Linked DNA regions of Homo sapiens: region 2 is linked to region 1. The links are contacts of gene promoters, found by promoter capture Hi-C in blood cells and fetal thymus (Javierre and others, 2016). All regions are on one chromosome and are shown on one strand. The core of a region is centred on a gene start or on the middle of the fragment in contact, and the rest is flanking DNA. Distances in the headings are between cores, read along the strand shown. Region 1 holds the start of OR10T2 (olfactory receptor family 10 subfamily T member 2). Region 2 has its middle 8.0 kb from the start of CD1A.

The links. The method cuts DNA at HindIII sites, captures the fragments that hold promoters and counts their contacts. A CHiCAGO score of 5 or more calls a contact.
Region 2: a contact is called between a fragment that was not itself captured here and the fragment with the promoter of OR10T2 in region 1, in 1 of 17 cell types (fetal thymus). The highest score is 10.5, in fetal thymus.

The regions. Positions count from the first base shown.
Region 1 is chr1:158,398,210-158,400,909 of GRCh38, reverse strand. OR10T2 (olfactory receptor family 10 subfamily T member 2) reads left to right here and starts at 1,444. Exons shown (of 1, transcript NM_001004475.1): 1 at 1,444-2,388. The coding sequence starts at 1,444. The coding sequence ends at 2,388. The HindIII fragment of the contact is 4,820 bases long and covers 1-2,700 here.
Region 2 is chr1:158,260,940-158,263,814 of GRCh38, reverse strand. No RefSeq gene overlaps it. Among named protein-coding and RNA genes, the nearest start is that of CD1A, 8.0 kb to the right of the region's middle. The HindIII fragment of the contact is 157 bases long and covers 1,510-1,666 here.

The DNA.
Region 1 (2,700 bases), core at 195-2,694:
ATCTTATAGCCATTAAAGTAGCCAACAAGTTGGGAGATGTTGAGTTGTGCAAATATTACATCTGGTTTCTCCTGAATCTCTGAAGCTGATTCTGAAAGTAAAAATGATTAGGGCTCTGGGAGGAGGAATAACCTAGACTATAAAATAATGGGAAGTTCCTGAGATAGGCTCTTCTCTTTCCATTTAGCACTTTCTGGCTATTTTATTTGCAAGAGATTCAAGGTGTGTTCACGTTATTTCCTCTCCTTTCTTCAATAGAGAGAAGACTTAACCTAAGTCTTCCTGCTCCACCCCTATCCCTAGTGATCATCAATCTATTTTGTTTCATAGACAGATACATCATAACCTTGTGACCCAGGTTTTACACTTGGGTCCCTTCACAGTTCCAGAAACATACAGAACAAATGTCATAGAATCATGAAAGAGAATTCAAAGGCTATAGACTCCTTAGATAAAAAAGGGCAGATTTATTAAAGAACCCTGATTTAATCATCCCACAATGTATACATGTATCCAAACATCACATAATACCCCATAAATAGGTATAATTATTAGTTGCTAATAAAAAATAAATTAAAAAGAAAATAATTTTTAATGTAAAAGTAACAGTTCTTTCTTTAACTGTGCATATTTAAATTTTTGCTCAATTTTAAAAAAAGAATCTCAAGGATAAGAACACTTGAGTCAAATGCAGGGAAACTCTGTCCTGATTTAAGGATCCAGGCTCTTCTAGTGTTCAAATATCAAACCAGGATATTTGCCTCTCAACTCCTTAACTGCATAAGCAGCTGACACATAGATTGGAGTTACTATGTGTTAAGTGCTGTTTCAAGTACTTTACTGATACCATCTAAGTTCTTACAACAATCCTATATAATATGTTCTATTATTATTTATGTCTTACAAATGACAAAAATTGTCACACTGAAGTTCATAGCTCTAAGTGGCAAAGGCAAGTTTCAAACTCTAGCATTCTTGTTCCTGAGTTCATGCTCTGAGGCACAGTGTTTTAATGCCTTTACAATAATGCTAATTAAATGGATTGTGATATTAGGAAAAGAAACCAAATTACTAGGATAGAATATACATCCAAGGACCAAATACATACAGTACAAGAAAAATAATTTAAATTTTCTATTCCATATTAAAGGTAATGTTCTTCTTAAACTGAGAGAATTTTTTCACTTTGTCAAATAGTTGGATCCTTTTAACTTTGGGGTATTTATATACTGTAGATAATCATTTCTCTGTTACTTCAGATTAATAATTTTTTGGAAAAATCATTAAAGAGGCATCTATATCTAGATAGACTAAGAGAAAGAGATGTTAACATTATGAATCTGACAATATACTTAAAGTGAAGGCGTTGGGAAAATGTTCGTATTACAAAGATAGTTATCATTTTGTCTCTTTCAAACACATTCACAGAAAGAAGTTCTTCAGATGCGAGGTTTCAACAAAACCACTGTGGTTACACAGTTCATCCTGGTGGGTTTCTCCAGCCTGGGGGAGCTCCAGCTGCTGCTTTTTGTCATCTTTCTTCTCCTATACTTGACAATCCTGGTGGCCAATGTGACCATCATGGCCGTTATTCGCTTCAGCTGGACTCTCCACACTCCCATGTATGGCTTTCTATTCATCCTTTCATTTTCTGAGTCCTGCTACACTTTTGTCATCATCCCTCAGCTGCTGGTCCACCTGCTCTCAGACACCAAGACCATCTCCTTCATGGCCTGTGCCACCCAGCTGTTCTTTTTCCTTGGCTTTGCTTGCACCAACTGCCTCCTCATTGCTGTGATGGGATATGATCGCTATGTAGCAATTTGTCACCCTCTGAGGTACACACTCATCATAAACAAAAGGCTGGGGTTGGAGTTGATTTCTCTCTCAGGAGCCACAGGTTTCTTTATTGCTTTGGTGGCCACCAACCTCATTTGTGACATGCGTTTTTGTGGCCCCAACAGGGTTAACCACTATTTCTGTGACATGGCACCTGTTATCAAGTTAGCCTGCACTGACACCCATGTGAAAGAGCTGGCTTTATTTAGCCTCAGCATCCTGGTAATTATGGTGCCTTTTCTGTTAATTCTCATATCCTATGGCTTCATAGTTAACACCATCCTGAAGATCCCCTCAGCTGAGGGCAAGAAGGCCTTTGTCACCTGTGCCTCACATCTCACTGTGGTCTTTGTCCACTATGGCTGTGCCTCTATCATCTATCTGCGGCCCAAGTCCAAGTCTGCCTCAGACAAGGATCAGTTGGTGGCAGTGACCTACACAGTGGTTACTCCCTTACTTAATCCTCTTGTCTACAGTCTGAGGAACAAAGAGGTAAAAACTGCATTGAAAAGAGTTCTTGGAATGCCTGTGGCAACCAAGATGAGCTAACAAAAAATAATAATAAAATTAACTAGGATAGTCACAGAAGAAATCAAAGGCATAAAATTTTCTGACCTTTAATGCATGTCTCAGACAGTGTTTCCAAGGATTAAGACTACTCTTGCCTTTTTATTTTCTCCTATTCCAAAAAGAAAAAAAATGCAAGTCAATCTACACTCTATATTGTCCGATGTCTAGTTAAAAAAAAAGAATTCACACTTGGCAAAAAGAGAAAAGCATGAGAGTTTTTCAAGGAAAGACACAACCAAAACAAATATAAGGACAAGAATTGCTTTTCCAGTTGGAGAGACAGAACAGAGT
Region 2 (2,875 bases), core at 339-2,838, 140 kb after region 1:
TACTTGTATAAAATTATCCTCTTTTCTTTTTAACCTTTCTTGCCAAAAATACATCTTTATGTTCTTAACTTTCTTCACATCTCTCTTCCCTACTTGCTGGTTCCTTTCTACCTTATTTCATAAATAAGTTTTTCGAGTCCATAATTGGGATCAAACTTTAGAAAACATTTGAATTAGACAAAATTATTCCATTTCTCAATAAGAAAACACCTTCTTTGGCAGGTTTTATATACTAAATTATATATTAACTACAATTCTTATTCTTAGTAACCTTAAATTTTAGTGAAAACTAGGAAGCAAGAAATCTTTAACTGTCTATCAAATATTTGCATTTTATAGATGAAAACATTCCACAATTTATAAAAACATGTTTCTCCATATCATAACCCTTTCTTAACTGGAAATGAGCCAGACATCCAAGAAGCATCAAAAATAATTTTAAGATTTTAAATTACACAAAAAGCTCACCTACAAGCATGTATCCCATTTACATGTATTCAATTCTTTCATCTTTTTAAACAATTTATAGGTCAGGCGCAGTGGCTCACGCCTGTAATCCCAGCACTTTGGGAGACCGAGGCAGGCGGATCACGAGGTCAGGAGATCAAGACCATCCTGGCTAACACGGTGAAACCCCGTCCCTACTAAAAATACAAAAAATTAGCCGGGCCTGGTGGCGGGCGCCTGTAGTCCCAGCTACTCGGGAGGCTGAGGCAGGAGAATGGCGCGAACCCGGGAGGCAGAGCTTGCAGTGAGCCGAGATCGCGCCACTGGACTCCAACCTGGGCGACAGAGCGAGACTCCGTCTCAAAAAAAGAAAAAAAAAAATTTATATAAGTGGGTTCTGAAAACTGAGATATTAGACAAAGGTAGTCGTCATTTCAGGTTATTGCTCTGTTGACCATTATTTGTAGCCTATGAATATTAGGTGCTCACCTAAGTAAGCAACTTAAATACATAGGTATTTTTGCCAATAACTTAGAAGATTCAACTGTTTTTATTAAACTAACAACATTTACTTAGTCTTATTTGCCAAAGAAGGCACACAAACAAAGATCATTTTGTTTTGGCTGGGTTTATACTTTTATAACCCTCTGTGCCAAACACTGACACCTCAAAGTATCTAGCAAAGACAATTATAAAACCCAGACGAAAATGTATTCTAACACTGTTAAGACATTCTTATTTTTTTATTACTAATGACTTTAAAGCCAGCTTTTTAAATAAACATTTACTTAAGTCACATAAAATTGAAAATTCCTTAGATTTATTTATTTAGTGTATAAGATGCTCTTTTATTTATAAGCCAATTTGGTAGACACAACATACAACATAATAAATGTACATACACATAAACACATATAAACATGTATACACATACACACACAAAGATCCAATAGCTTTTACCTTGGAACTCTAGCCATGAGATAGCAATACCAAACCACTGGTTTAGGAACATGTTCACATGGCTCAAGTTTGTTTGCCCCAATATGTAATCCAATGAAAGCTTTGAACCAAAATTTGGGTAAAGCAGTTTCCATGGCCGTTTGATTATTAAAGGCTAAATTTCCCCAGGCTCCAAAGACCACTAGGGCCAAACAGCACTATAGAAGAACATCATGTACTAACCAGGTCCAACCCTGCTTAGAACAGCAGCCTAAAAGCTTAGATACATGTAACACCATAACACCGTTCCACTGTCTCACTCAACAGCATGACCCATGGAGAAGCCAAACTTCTCCAGATTCCAAAGAACACTGAAGCCAAACAGTGCTACAAAATATTATCAGTTTATCAAATTCTGATTTCCTGTGACTATATTAACACACACAAATAAACAAGCAATCACTAAAACACTGTCCAATTGCTGCAGCAACCAACGAGTTCCAATATCAATCAGTTGGGCTTGTTCAACCTGCAAATGGAAATTCCTCCAGAATTCCCCAAATTGAGAGGAGAAGATCCCACTGTCTGGTACCCACAAAAGACATTCACCCATCCAGACTCAGATGACACATTTCAAAGGCTGCTCTTCCTAGGCAATCAGAAACACAGCTGGGGCTGGCAGAGGTAGGGCCAGAGAAAGAAAAACCAACACCCACCTGTAGCCAAAAAAGTGTTGGGCAGCTGCTTAGGAGGACTTTTGAGACTCTCCCTGCCCACAGCAGCCAAGTTACTAGCAATACATTCCCAGCCAGGGAACTAAACCTTGTCAAAAACAACTAAAACCTACCAATCTACCGCATCTGGACAACGAGATGCCAGACTCCTCACCCATCATGATTGCTTAAGCAACCACCTGCTTGCTGTTGACCAATTCTTCTTCCTTACCTCTCCCTAATTCCTATTTTGCCACACAGGGTTCTGTTTCTTCCCTGCCCTATAAATCCCTAATTTTAGTCAATCAAGGAAATGGATTTGAGATTGATTTCCTATCTCCTCGGCTGCAGCAGTCAATTAAAGGCAATACTCATTGCCTCGGTAACTGGTTTTTATGTGGCAAGCAGCAGGCCGTAGACCAAACTCCTGGCATTTTAATAACACTAGGTTGCCTTTGCATTCCTATGAAAATCCTAAGAGTATATATTTTTGCCTCCATTTAACCAAAGAAAAGAAGGAAGATCAGGGAACCTTTCCAAAGTCACTCACTTAGCAGCAGATGCAGCACTTTTATTCCTGGTCAGAAATATATGAAAAGTTCAAGAGAGTAATTAATTCAGGCAGCATAGTTAAAAACAGGACAGTGTAAGAGTTTAAAAAGATAAGCACACATATAAGAAAAAAACTACAGGTCAGGTATTCCTAATGTGAAAATCTGAAATGCAAAATGCTCCAGAATTTAAAACATTTTGAGCACTGACACGATGCTGAAAGA